Linked DNA regions of Homo sapiens: region 2 is linked to region 1. Evidence: promoter capture Hi-C in human tissues and cell types (Jung and others, 2019). All regions are on one chromosome and are shown on one strand. Each heading gives the region's core, a stretch centred on a gene start or on the middle of the fragment in contact. The rest is flanking DNA. Distances are from core to core; before and after follow the strand shown.

Region 1 (6,913 bases), core at 2,144-4,643:
CACTTTTTCCATTTATAAAACCCAGACTGGCTCTCCCTGTGAATCGAATTCCCCGGCTACTGTCTGGCTCTGTGCTTCGGCGCAGGGGGTGTGTGTCTGGAAGAGGGGGTGAAGGTCGTATTTAGGGGTGTGTTCTGACATCTCTGAATTCACCCCAGTGTCCTGCCGGACAGGAACACAGCCAGGAGAGCAGTTTCTAAGTAAAATTTCCGAACCTCTGATCGGGAGGAGAGACTTGGCGCCCAGATGACTGGACCGGACGAGATTGAGCAAAGGGGCTTAAAACCAATTAAAAGGAAATCGAACATACCGCACTGGGTTGCAGACGTGAAACAGAAACATGAAAAAAACGGGGGTGAGGGTCATTTGGGAAGGGTAAATGAAGAAGGGGACAGGGTAAAAGACAGACACCCCCAGTTTTGTATAAATAGATTGTGAATAATTTTAATCATAGTGTTCATTTTGGATTTTTCTTGACCCGGGCTAGAGGCAGAACCGAGCTAGTTGGCCGGAGCCTGAGGAGCGCGTGGGCTCCGCAGTCCCGCGGGATTGGGCTTCCCGGGGCCGCAGCTGCGCTTGCCAGGCCCCCGCACAGCTCGGGGCAGGTTTTGTGTTGCACGAGATCGAAAAGGAGGTTTGTTTGGGGGTAGCTGGAGGCGACAGAGGTGGGAGCAACCCTCCAGGCGCAGCCGCCGCTGCTCATTCCCCCAACCAACGCATGTTTCGCGCGGGTGGCGGACTCCGCGAGCATTCCTACCCAAAACCTATACAGACGCAATTAACCCCAACTGGGTTGGCCGAAACGCCGCCACGCTGGGCCCAAGGCAGTCCTTGTCCCCTCACGCTCGCGCAGGCACTTCAGCCTGGCCAACAGGGAACTTCAACGCCCGCAGCGAGCCACACAGCCATCCCTGGAGCTCCCAGCAGCACTGCCGCGGGGGGCGCCCTTAGCGCAGCCGGCAAGTAGTGGGGAAGCCCCACTCTGTCAAAGTTCGGGACCACGGCTCCCCCAAATTGCCTCCCAGCGGGGCACCGAGGCCCCTGAGCGCGTCTCGGGGGGTTGGCTGGGAGGAGGGGCGCCCGCCGAGCGCGGCCCCGTCTGTTTTGGGGCGGGCAGCAGGGAGCTGGGAGAAAGGAACAATTCATTCGCTTCCTGAGGGGGCATAATTTGGGTGGCAGCTGTTACCGCCGAGAAAAGCTGGTGCCCTCGACCCTGACTTTGCCCTTTAACCCCAGCCAACCTGAGCCTGAGGGGTAAACTGTTGGGGCTTGGCCCAGGCCCACTGCTGACCAGAGGCCTCTCCGGGTGCCCTGCGCACCTTTCCGGGGCAACGTGGAGGTACAGCTGATCAAAGCCCCCTTGAAAAAAAAATCACCGGGCTCATAGGCATGTCTTGAAGGGCTCACGGCTGTTCCACACTCTCTGCCAAGGAACTCAAGGCTTTGGCCCCGCTGGGCGCAGACCCCAGACGAAGGGGGTGGGGGGGAGTTGCTTGAGGTTCGGAGAGATTTATAAAGAGAGACCGTAGAAGACTCCAGGTGATCAGTTTTTGCTGGGACCGAAATTCTCCGTAAAACCTGCATGTAACAGAGAATTGCCGAGTTGAAACAGGGCAGTGAATCTCATCCCTACAAATTTCCCTCCCTACCCCCTTCTTCCTTTGGACACTCCTGTCTTACTTGGCTTTTACTAGCCACCCGATCCATTTCCCAATCGCCCTGTATGGCTCTCCCGCCCCTTCCAGTCCAACAGGGAGGACCAAGCCAGAGCTCTGGGGTCGGGGTACCACAGTCAACACAACCCAGAGGCGGGGGGTTTACCTTCTCTACCTTCCCCCAAATCAATGACCCCAGTCCCTGGATCCCGGGGCCTGTGCAGAGACGGTCCGTGCACCCGCCCCGCAAACTCCCTAACCCCCTATCCGTTTTCAAGCGAATCTCCGCAGTTCGGACCAGCACTTCCTAGTCGCAATCCCGCGCACGCAGCGTGGTGCCGCGGTTTGTCCCTTGGGGAGGTGGAGGCGCGCACCGGTCCCTTTCTCGAGAGAGCCGAGTTTTCTTGAAGTGCAAGCTTCCTGTCAGCCTAGGCAAACCAGTTGCAAGGCGCTGTGTCCTCTAGCGGCAAACTCTAGCAGTTCATTTGCGAGCGCTCACCTACACCTAAGGGATCTGGTCTCTCAAATCTGAGACCCAAGAGGGGAGAAAGTGCCCTGAACGCAGTCCAGGCGCTCGCAAATGCCCTCCCCGTAATGAGACCGGGAGACTGGGGCGCAATCGCTCGAACTACGAACAGCTGATTGTCTCCTCCACGGCAGATGGTCTTTGAGCACAGATTTGCATTCATTGTCTTCAAATCTGTTTTCGCGCTGGTGTTCTAGATTTCAGCAGCAGCAGATCTATGCGCAGATCAGAATACAAAAGGAGAAGCAAGAAAATGACACCCAGCCAGGAGGATGTTTAATAGGCACCGCGAGCAGCCCCGCGCAGTTAAAAAACCGTCTAGGGTTTCAGCTGTTCGGTGAGGCTGCTGCCACCGCCTGCCGGCCACCAGCCCGCGGCCAGCACCGCGGCGACCGCGCGCGGTGGGCGAAGTTTCCACGACTCCCCCGTCCCTCCCCGCCCACTACCGGGGGCTTCGGGAACGGAGAGGTGGGGAGGGAACCGGAGGACCCGCGGGAATACTCCCCGGCCGCTCGCGCACTCAGCCCGCCTCGATCTGTCAGCAACCTCTCCTCCACACGGGTGCGACTGCCGCTCGCGCCCGCCCGCCCGCGGGTGTTTTCCTTAGGTCCTGGACCGTTTTCCCCAGCACTGTATTTGAGCAGCACTTGCCCCTCGCTTGTCCGCCCCACCCCATCCCCCGCCTTCTTTCATATGTTCTCCACTCTCAGCAACGTGCAAGCCGCACACAACATCTGATATCACCATGGAACTCCAGGAGACCTGGGGAGCCATTCAGGGAGCTGGGTGCTCTGGGGGACGTTTGCGCAAAACATAAGCACATGTGGCCACGCTCACAAGCATGCACACAGATCCGAACCCCGGGAACGAACGTGCCTCCCGGCAGGCTACAAAAGCCTACATCTAGAGGCAGGATCCAGGGAGGCTTCCCGCAGCCAGGCCGAACCCCTGCGTCCCCAGCCCGCAGAGACCTGCTACCCTAAGTCAGTGCAGGGTGTGGGGGCCCCCCAATCCTGCGCAAGCACACGGGGTTCGTGCTAGGACTCGACGCCCGCAGCTTTCTGTCCCCTTTCACCTCCCGGAGTCCCGGCAACGCAGAGCGTGGCGCGCGCCGCCGGAGGACGTCGGCCCGGCTTGCCAGGCGCCGGCCAATCCCGCGCGTCCATGCAAATGAGGCTCCTTATCGGGCCGCAGCTCCGCCTCCCGCAGCCAGGGCCGTAGTAACCCATTCATGGGGCCCGCGCGCGGCTGCAGCCGGGCTCCGTGGCGCTCGCAGCCACCGCCTCCTCTCGGCTCCAGGTCTTCCCCTTCTTTTTACAACTGATCCTGTTGGGGATTTTTTTTTTTTCTAAATTGGAACGGTGGGGAGGAGCAGGGAGGGGGGACCTGGAGGAAGGGGAGAGATTAGGCAGCCATCAATTTCCTCCAGTTTCTCCCAGAACAGGTGATGCTTCTAAATTGTGATCACTTTCAGGAGGCAGCACTGCAGCTGGAAGGATGCGAGCGACCTAGGGTGGAGTGGCTGAGGCGGCAGATCTGAACTTGCGGAGGATAAGAACCCAAACTTTGACTACATCAGTCCGCACCTCGCCAGTGAAGCAAAGGACGGGTTATCTTTTTTTTTTTTCTAAGACTCAAACTTGGGCACTTGATCCCTTTTCTTGGATTGCTTTGGAGGAGACGATTTGCTGGCAACGTTGGGAACAGTCAGGACTGTGTTGTAACTCTTACTTTTAAAGCGACAGTAGAGGATCAGACTTTTTAAATGTTTGGAATTCAAGATACTTTAGGAAGAGGACCAACTCTGAAAGAGAAATCGCTGGGCGCGGAGATGGATTCGGTCAGGTCCTGGGTCCGGAATGTCGGAGTGGTGGACGCTAATGTCGCCGCGCAGAGGTAACGACACGGCCGCGCAATTATTATGCTGTCTCTCGCTCTTACGGTCTGTCTCTCCGTGTGCACCCCCCCCGCGCACCCCGTGCCTTTCTCTCTCCCTGTCCCCCCATCTGTCGCCCAGGCCCTGCGCGCTGGGGCTCGCCCTCGGGCAAGCAGATCGCTGCAGTCAGGCGAACGCTCACCCGGCAGCCGGCACTCGAGTTCCTGAACTGCCTGGGTCGTAGGCGTTTCTCTCCCTCTCCTTTACCACAGTCCACTCTTTGCAAGGAAAAATAAAGTAGCCCCCAACATCTCCCAGCTCAGCCCCTAGTCCTGCAAGCCGAGCCGGCCTGGCCCCGAACGGAGCGTGAACACCGGCGCTGGCAGTGGCGGCGCGGGAGGAAAGCCGGCTTCCTGGCCACTCTTGGCTTCGCCACGCCGCCTGCGAGCGCCTACCTCCCGCATCTTGCTGGGCGATTCCTGGAGCCTGGGAGGCCGGCGGCCAGAGGGTGGCGGCGGCGAGGGGAGCGGGAAAAGCCGGAGCGGCTGCCCGGGAAGACGAGGCGGCCGGGAGCTCTGGGAGGGGGGACAGGCTGGAGGGTCCCGGCTCAAAGATAAAACAGTGAGCCAGACGAACGGAGCTAGGGAACTGGAGAAAAGAAGAGATTTAAAAGAAGAGAAAATACTGAGTCACAGTAGAAAGAGTTGCGGAAGAAGAAAGAGGCGAGAAAAGGCCACCAGCAGCTAGACTGGCTCAGGGATCGCCAGCCTCTGGTTTTGCGGATCCCTGAAGTTGACTTTGTGTTTAGGCGTCTGCGTGCTGGGATAGTAAATACCATGTCCGGGGTGCCACCCTACGAAGACATTACGGTCCCACTCTCTCATCACCACTACTGAGTTGGGATTTGTGGCCTCCAGGTCCTTGTCTGCGAGAGAGGCAGCCCTTCTACCCCCAAAGAGCCGATGAACTTCTTCCACTACCCTCGCTTCCCCTGCTGCCCTCCTGGCCACCCACATTTAAGTGCCAACATCACACGGAGAAATGATCCCTTTCCCAAACTGGCCAGGTGTCCCGGGTAGAGCGAACCGGCCTCTACCCTTGGAGCGGAGAAAGCAGAAGTTTTATCGCTCCGGGACTTGGGCCGGCGGCGGTTCCCTCCCTCCTGTGGCCCGGGGAGCGCGGATTTCCCTCCGGCAGACCGCACAGCGCGGCGGCCGCGGCTTTCCGCAGCGCTTCGGGACTGGCCCGCCTGCGAGCTAAGGGAAATAAGGCAGCACCGCAGAGCCAACTGTGCCGCGCATTTCCTTAGCTGGGCTCCTTAAAGACGCCTCCCTCGCTTTCCTTCCTTCCCGGGATCAAAAAGTTTGTTGAAGCTGGAAGGAGCAGACTTAGTGGGGGAGAGCTTAGCCAAAATGTTACCCCTTTCAAAAGAGTGAATGAAGGTGCTTGCGCACCGGGGTTCAACCTGGGAGACCCCAGCGCCGCAGGGCAGCTCCCGCAATCTGTGCGTTCACCTCAGCCCCAAGTCTTCGGTGAAATGGGATCTGATGGCCAGGTGGGCTGTGACTGCGACCGGTTGGCTGGGAAGCGTGTGCACACACTCAGCACGCTCGAGGGCGCCTTCCGGGTCCCCCAACTTGGGTTTCACAGTCACTGGGTTCGGCTGGCGCCGCCAGAAAACGCAGCATGAGTGGGGATCGCGTTGGCCCCAGGAAAGGAGGTTCTCGCCTTTTAACAGTTTGGCTTTTCCCCACCTAGCACCTCTGGGAGGGAGGGCCCCCTATGTCGGTCATCTCATTTGTGGTGGCCAGCGATCCCCGGGGCTGGTCGCGAGGATTCCGCCCTGTCTCTGTCCCAGGCACAACTTTTCGGAAGAGCGAGGCAAGCAGCCCAAGGACCCAGACCTGGACTCTGTGTTACTCTCCCGCCTGCCCCTTGGGGTTCTTACCCACTACCTTTCCCAGTCAGCATTTGGGCGTTGTGAGCAGTGGGTCCAGGACTGATAACTCGAATTAATACTAAATAAAAGGGTCGCTTCTTCCAAAGCAAAGGAGGCACTTATTCCCCTAACCCTGGGCCCCAGCTCTGCATCCTGATACACCCAGCAGTACCACCTGAGGGAGTGGATGGAGACAGCCCCACGGTATAGGACGCGGGCCACCTCCTTAGGGGACCACTCTGGGCCTCTGTCTGCAGCCGGGGTCTTTCGGTTTCGACTAAAGACGGGATGGTGAGTGGCCCAGCGGTGGGATGCCGGACCACTTGGTGGTGTCAGAGACCCCAGGTATCAACCCTGCCACCCAACCCCCGTGGCCACGGTGACTCCTTTAAGGAGTCTCCTCTTCCTTATCCGAATTGGAAAAAAGGCCCGAAGGGTTCAGAACTCTGGACCTGGGAAGTGGACCCCTTACCCCTCTGCAGTGTTGTGGGCGGTTAGTAACATCGCCTTTTTGTGCTTCCCCGTGTCTTGTGTTCCCCCGTTTTTCTCCCTGTGCAGCGGGGTCGCCCTGTCCCGGGCCCACTTTGAGAAACAGCCTCCTTCCAACTTGAGGAAATCCAACTTCTTTCACTTCGTCCTGGCGCTCTATGACAGGCAGGGCCAGCCGGTGGAGATCGAGCGGACGGCCTTCGTGGACTTTGTGGAGAATGACAAAGTAAGCGGAAAGTACCCCCCAAACCCCGCGGCCTAATAACTCCCTCTTGCGAAGCACTAAAGATTCCATCTGTCACTCTCGCGACACTTTTCCACTCTCACCATCAGGGATGATAAATCGAGGCTACTCACCCCCAGCCTCTAAATCAGTCGATTTCCCGAACCTCCTCCCACCCCGACTCCCCCAACCTGGAGCTGGAGGA
Region 2 (6,913 bases), core at 1,138-3,637, 1.1 Mb after region 1:
AGTAATGGCAAAAACCACAATTATTTTTGCACCATCCTAATACAGTACTTTTCAATGATTTTCTTACCCCAGTTGGTCTTAGATTCCTAGCTAGATTGCAAGCCCGTTGGTGCTGTTGTCTTGTTACTCTGTTGTGTCTAAACCACTCCAAACTTCATTTTCTTAATTTGTGAAACAGCAATAATAATAGTACCTATTTCATAATGTGGTTTTGGGGGTTAAATAGTGTGTATAAACTGCTAGTGCCTTTGACAGTGCCAGATAAACAGTAGTTATTATTATTATAATTATGATGCTCATAAACCTCCCCTATAGTGGTTGGCATCGCTCTGGGCGTGTGGTAGGTTTTCATGTGCTAACGAGACGTATATCACATAACCTTTTCATGAAGAGTTTAAAGACTTGTCAGAGAGATAAGAATTTACCTAGGGTAAAAGAGAAGGAAATTGATGTGCTTTAGCTCACCAGGTTTGGCAACAAAAATGTTAGAATGAAGATAATTAGAGACCTATTCAGCCACAGTGTTATTGGGTGCTTGATTTTAGGCACACAGTTCAATATCAAGATAAGAGGAAAAAAATTATTTTTGCATAAGACCGAGTATGTGCATGTATCTAACAGGACACCCCTTCTTTCCCCTGCACTCAATTTTTTGCATATGGACATACATAATGAGATAGAAAGTTGCCAGGTTGCAGATTCTTTCTTTTGTAGGAGCTACGTGTTGCCTTAAAGTGAACAGATCATGTTACCCTGAATCTGCATTTAGCCTTGAATATAGATGAACTCTTTTGTCTCAGTGACACAAGTGACAGATCTGGCAAAGCACAAAGCTGAAGTTGCAAAAAGATATAGACAACAGATTATACCGTAACAAGCATTTGGTATAATCTATGAATTTTTTGATAACCTAAATCCTAATTTTCTTGCTAATATAACACTTAGATTCTTATCCATTTTGAATGCTTAGGTTTATGCCTTTCATGTTTTTTATTTATAGGCAGATCCTATCAATAGATGAGAATCAGAGAGAAACAATAAATACATTTTAGCAAAAATAGTGTGGAGGGAAAATAGTTATTTTTCACAACATGTTTCATGTGAAAATATCTGACAGACAGCTTATTTTTTTTTTGGCAAATTGCTAAGGATCCAGAAGGATTAGAAAGTCCTCTTCCTCATGTCATTTGTCTAAAATACTAATTGTCAGAACACTCCAAAACCTCCTGTGCTTGCCAGAGTTTTTTTTATTTTATTTTTATAATCAGAAAAAAATACAGTAATGTGCAAATCTGGATGCAAATTACCTCCTGTTTAATTACATTATAGGTGTAAATTACCCCCAATGCCAAACATTTCTGCCCTGGGTTCCAGAACTGTGTGTTGCAATTACATCTTTCGTGCTCCTTTAAATTTTGCAGTGGTAACAAATGTGTAATACCAATAATTATGAAAACCACTTGCTATGTGCAGCTAATTTAAAATCTAGGTTCAGGATTCTATATTTGAAATGTGAAATTCAACCCTGTCAAATTTCCATCAACACTTAAATCTAAATGGTTCTTCTGTTCACAATGTCAGAAATAAGAAGTGACAAAGTTACCAAAGGCAAAGACTAAGACTCTGGGAATCAGTGAACAGGACAGCATCAGAAGGTTCCGTGACCTTGAACTTCCCTTGGCCTTAGTTTGCTCATCTGCCTAATGGGAGATGATATCTATTCTACTTAAATGAAACTGCTTTTTCAAAGACTAAGTGAGATCTTGCATTAGTTGGGTAAAAAGGCTAAGCTGATTAACGAGAGACCCAATATTACAGTGGCTAAAAGAACAAAGAAGCTTATTCTTCTTTTGTGTACTGATCCTGGTGGGGAGGTGGCCTGTTTTGTACTGTGTGGTCATCTTGGGGTTCTAGTTGGAAATGCGTCCACTATATCTGGGTTCAGAAAATGAGATTTTAATGAATTGATTGGGCCAGAGGGCATGCTTAGAATTCCGATATTATGGCACTCTGTTCTTCTTGAATGTTTCATCCATTACTCACCCCCTATCCAGATTCTACCCACTAGACCACAGCTCCATTTCTGCTTTCTCAGGAAGACTTCATTGCCTCCTCTCTCCTCTTAAGTTCTCCCAGCATGTAGTTGGCATCATGTGATTTGGTAATTATCCCAGCTCGTATTGTTTTATATTGCATATGCAAAGAAATCTTGTTCCTGCAATTAAACTTTAGGCTCTTTAAAGGCAAGGACCTCTTCTTACTGCTGCTTTATCCTTTTCCACTTTCCTCTTCTCACTGGGTATAAAAATAACATGCAATGTACACGTCTTATAAATAGACATATCGAATTAAACAAAATCAAAGAGCACATTAGAGCTGTGATTTCCTAGACTCAGAGGAAACAGAGGGTTTTGACCCTTTTCCTTGTTTTTTATTAATAACATGGTTAGGTTTGCTTAAGTTTAGATTTTGGATTCCTGATGTCCTGATCAGACTTCTCTATGATATCACTTGGGAACTCTTTCCTAAGTCCCGAAGTGTAGGTCAGGTAGTCTAAAAACAAGCTGGCAAGAGCCTGGAATTGTGGCCCTCCAGGTATGTGGCTTGCACTAGAATTAATTGTTGACAATGGCACTTCTGGATTCTCTCCATATTTCTGCTTGTCCCCTGTATTATGAAGGCTGTATACAGCCACATCACCTTTATAAAATACATTTTAACTAGAAACAATCACGGGGATAATTATGCATTTCTGCATTTCATTTACATAGTCAATGGCCAATTAATGTTTGGTGACCAGATGGTAAACTGGAAAGTAATTGATCTTTTCCAATCAATATGTGGAAAACAGTTGACTTTGACCTTTTGGATTTGCTTATCTTGAGGTGTTGTATATACCACAAGCTGGGCATTACAGGCACCCATCAATTACATCGATTGCCCTTTTGATTTTCCCTTGCTGCTGAGCTGGAGTTGAAATCATGCATTGTATCTACTCTAAGCTGGTTTGCACAGAGGAAGAGAAAAAAGGAGGAAGTACTTTGGTGAGTGTTGATGTTTGCTAGGGACCATTGTGGACAGCTTGAACCTCAGTTTTCAGAGGAAGACTAAGAGGGGACGCCTTAAAAACTAGTGGTTTCTCTCAAGGAATCTGCCTCATTCCTGAGTGTCAAGGACAGTCGTAATGGGTTCCAATCACGCATTGCCTCTGAAATCAAAGTGCAGCATTTGATATCTTGACTGATTTCTTCTTGGCCTGTAACTCTGCTATTTTAGACAAATCTGCGTGGGCTCTTGATAGACAGGTAGTAAAAATAGCAACTGTGTCACATGTAACTTTTTCTAATTAAGCATTTACATCACATTTTGTATTTCTAAAGTGATTTGGAAGCACTCAGATTCTTTGCCAGTGACGATGCTTTTGTGAGCCATATTGGTGAAAGCATTTTAAAGCTACCTTAATGTAAAAGAGATTTGAGTGAGCAGCATTGGAACCCACTCTTGGGTCCTAGTTTTTTTTTGTTTTGTTTTTGATTTTGAGACAGAGTCTCGCTCTGTCACCCAAGCTGGAGTGCAGTGGCACAATCTCGGCTCACTGCAAGCTCTGCCTCTCGGGCTCAAGCTATTCTCCTGCCTCGGCCTCCTGAGTAGCTGGGATTACAGGCATGTGCCACTACGCCCGGCTATTTTTTTTTTTTTTTTGTATTTTTAGTGGAAACGGGTTTTCACCATGTTGGCCAGACTGGTCTTGAACTCCTGACCTCGTGATCCACCCACTTTGGCCTCCCAATGTGCCAGGATTACAGGCGTGAGCCATCGCTCCTGTCCGGGTCCTACTTTTTCTTAGCTCCTGATTTGCTCTGCTTCAATTGATAAAGGAAAATGTGGAGTCTGAGGATGCAGAAAAGGCCTTTGAAAGATTAATTGACTCTAGGCGTAATGGTAACAAAACGGTTCTAGGTAGATGAAAATTATCTTGCTCTAAAAAACTATTTTAAGAGGAGAAGTCTACATTTGAATTAAAAAGAAGCATTTTCTTAAGTGGGTGAATAAAAGGCTGCTAAAAATACAGGAGTATCTCTTGGGGTAATGCTAACTAAATACCTCATTAAAAATCACAATGTAGAAAATTTACCCCCAGAAACGTTGATACCTTTCTCCTTGGAACCTAATGAAAGATCCTGAAACATTATTATTTATCCCATTCTTTTCCATCTAGTTTATAAGAAGATAATTATTTCCTTTCATGTACTATTCCTCTGGTTTCACTTTTGGTCATTGTTCATCATATTTTGGGATAACTTGTAGTTCTTACAATTTAAAAATTACCTCATTTTTTTTCTAGTGCCTAAAGCCTTTCTTTGCCTTGTACCAATTAGGTCACTAAAATAAAAATTGTTCCAAAACATGGTTATTTGTAATTTGAGCCACCTCACTGCTCAAATCACTCCGTGATTTTTGTCAATTTCATCTTAATAAACTGCCTCACATAATTGTTTTTTAATTCACTCGCTCATTTATTCATTCAGTCAAACAGTCAGTTACCATTCCTTGGAGTCCTATAATGATTAATATGTTGGGCTGGGAGCTGTGGGTTTTTCCCATAGGCCCCAGGGTGAAGGGCTGGAAGTTAAAAAGTTTAAATCTGAATATTGTCAGATAAGTTTCTGATTGTCAATGAAGGGTTGTTTCTTTTTCAGAATGTAAAAGTGACTAAGTATAGAGTCCTTCTACAGTTCAAAGCAAATGCTATCCCATTTTCTCTTACAGTATGCTAGACAGTGTGGTCATCATTGGAAAATTAGAAACAAATGTTACTTAACCTCTGTTCTGAAGAAGCCACAGTGGAGACGACATTGTGATATCATTAGGTGGAGAACTCCAGCTAGGAGCAATATATAGAAAGGTCAATCATGTTTGAGACACTTTATGTAGATTTGCTTTAATCCTCCAGTTGACACTGTAAGGCCAGTATTGTTGTTCCCATTTTAGAGATAAGAAAATAGGCTCCAAGAAATGTGTCACAGCTAGTAAACCAAAGAGCTGGAACTGGAACACATTTTTCTCACATATATGATTTTTCTTGTGGATTCGTCAGTTCACGCCAATCTGGGGAATACTCTGGAGTTAGCATGACAAAAATAAAACACAGTCTGTATTTTTCTGGTTCCTTCCTATAAGCCCGGAGCCTAGCCCCACCCCTGCTCAAGTCTTCTATCTGGATCAAGTGACATGATCAGATGGGTGAGTGTGTGTATTTGGGGGCTGGTGTGGATATAAGGGTGGGCTGGGAAGAGGTGCGTGGGCATTTTCTCTAGTTTGTGAGTGCTACCTTCACTCATTCATCTATTGGAGCACGTCCATTCCTCCCTCACTGAAGCCATTTTTCCTTTGCACTTCTGCAGTCTCTGTGCGGAGGCTGGTGGGTGGAATTATCCTATGCCTGCTGGGTCGATATGCTCAAGTGTAATTTGGCCACAAACCCACATGGTCAGTTTTGTTCTGAAAATCTGCTGATTTTCATATGTTGCTTCTCTCATCCTAGGATTATGCCATTTTCCGGAGGGTCACTGGGCTGGGAGATCATCTGAGAATTCCCACAGCATGATGAGCTTAAAAACCACTGAAGTTGCATAAGCCCCCAAAGCTACAAGATTTATGTACTCTGACTTCTCCTTTTTAGGTGATCAAGGGGTTAGGAGGTTGAGTGAGAGGAATGAGTCTACCAACGTGGGTAAAATACAGACCAGTACCTGGGTAGATCTGGATATACAGGGGGCACATAGCTTGGTGTATGTTCTGGAATTCAGTTTACTAGTTTGAAGCCTACTTTCATTTTGTAAGATGGTAAATTACAGACATTAAGTTGTAAGAGCTTTTACGTCTTTATGGATAAATGGACCCTGAGTACTAAATTTTGACCTTGAACTGCTTAAGACTTCTCCAGGATGATCTGCTGATCAGTAGCACTCAAATATCTGAAACCAAACTCTTGGTCTTCTCTCACCACTCTTCCTTTCTCTATTCATGTCACCATCATTTTCCCATCATTCTTGTCTGAAATCTGGGTATCCTATTTGATGCTTCCCTTCCTAGTTTTCCTACCATCAAATCTGTGGTCTAGTCCTGTCGTTACATAGATAACATTTCTTCCTAGACTTCACTCAAGATGTATCTGTCAGATAACAAAAATGTCCTCAGCATCAAGGCAGATTTGGGACCGGCACACTGTGTGTCAAGACAGTCCACCGACAGTATCTATGTCAACAGGGACAGAGAATGACCTGCCCACTCCTAGTCTCTTTATGCAAAAGACAGCCTGAATAATCAACTTCTTGATGTTCTTCTACGTTTTCTGAATTTTTTTTTTTTTTTAGGGGAAAACCCTCTTCTTGATATTAGCAGGGCTTGTCCATTTATGCCTCTGATCCACATAGAATGCTTTGTCTGGCCAAATCATAGGCTCTTGGCAGCATTAAGAAAATAGATTCAAGATCATCTGGTCTCAGTTTGTACGTGAAAAAATGGAAACGTTAAATGACTTGTTCAGGTGTATTTACCTAGAAAACAGTTGATTTTGGAATCCAAATGCCTGTCTCCTAATTCCAGAGATGGGACTTTGTTTATTTGACACCCACTTTTGTTTATCTTCTAAGTTGCAGTGTGAGGAGTGCAGTGCAGTATGTGATGGAAGAGAACCAGCATGTATGTGGTGGGGTGAAAGACAGACAGAGGTGTATGAATTCACATTCTTCTGCTATGCACAGTCAGCTATGGGCACCTGTAAGTACAGTCTCCAAGGCCACTTTGCTCATATGTAAAAAAAAAGAAAAGAGAAAGGAAAGCACCAGGCTTTCTTTCTCAGTTTTCTTTTTGCTATAAATATCAGAGCCATAGAAACCCTTTATTTATC

Evidence for each region. The method cuts DNA at HindIII sites, captures the fragments that hold promoters and counts their contacts. A contact is called where the count stands out against the background at its distance.
Region 2: a contact is called between a fragment that was not itself captured here and the fragment with the promoter of EBF2 in region 1, in 1 of the 25 tissues and cell types used here (dorsolateral prefrontal cortex).

Annotation. Positions count from the first base shown.
Region 1 is chr8:26,041,893-26,048,805 of GRCh38, reverse strand. EBF2 (EBF transcription factor 2) reads left to right here and starts at 3,393. Exons shown (of 16, transcript NM_022659.4): 1 at 3,393-4,077; 2 at 6,555-6,711. The coding sequence starts at 3,947. RefSeq lists an enhancer at 85-877 and a silencer at 5,179-5,473. The HindIII fragment of the contact is 15,996 bases long and covers 1-6,913 here.
Region 2 is chr8:24,896,788-24,903,700 of GRCh38, reverse strand. No RefSeq gene overlaps it. Among named protein-coding and RNA genes, the nearest start is that of NEFM, 14 kb to the left of the region's middle. The HindIII fragment of the contact is 6,177 bases long and covers 1-5,475 here.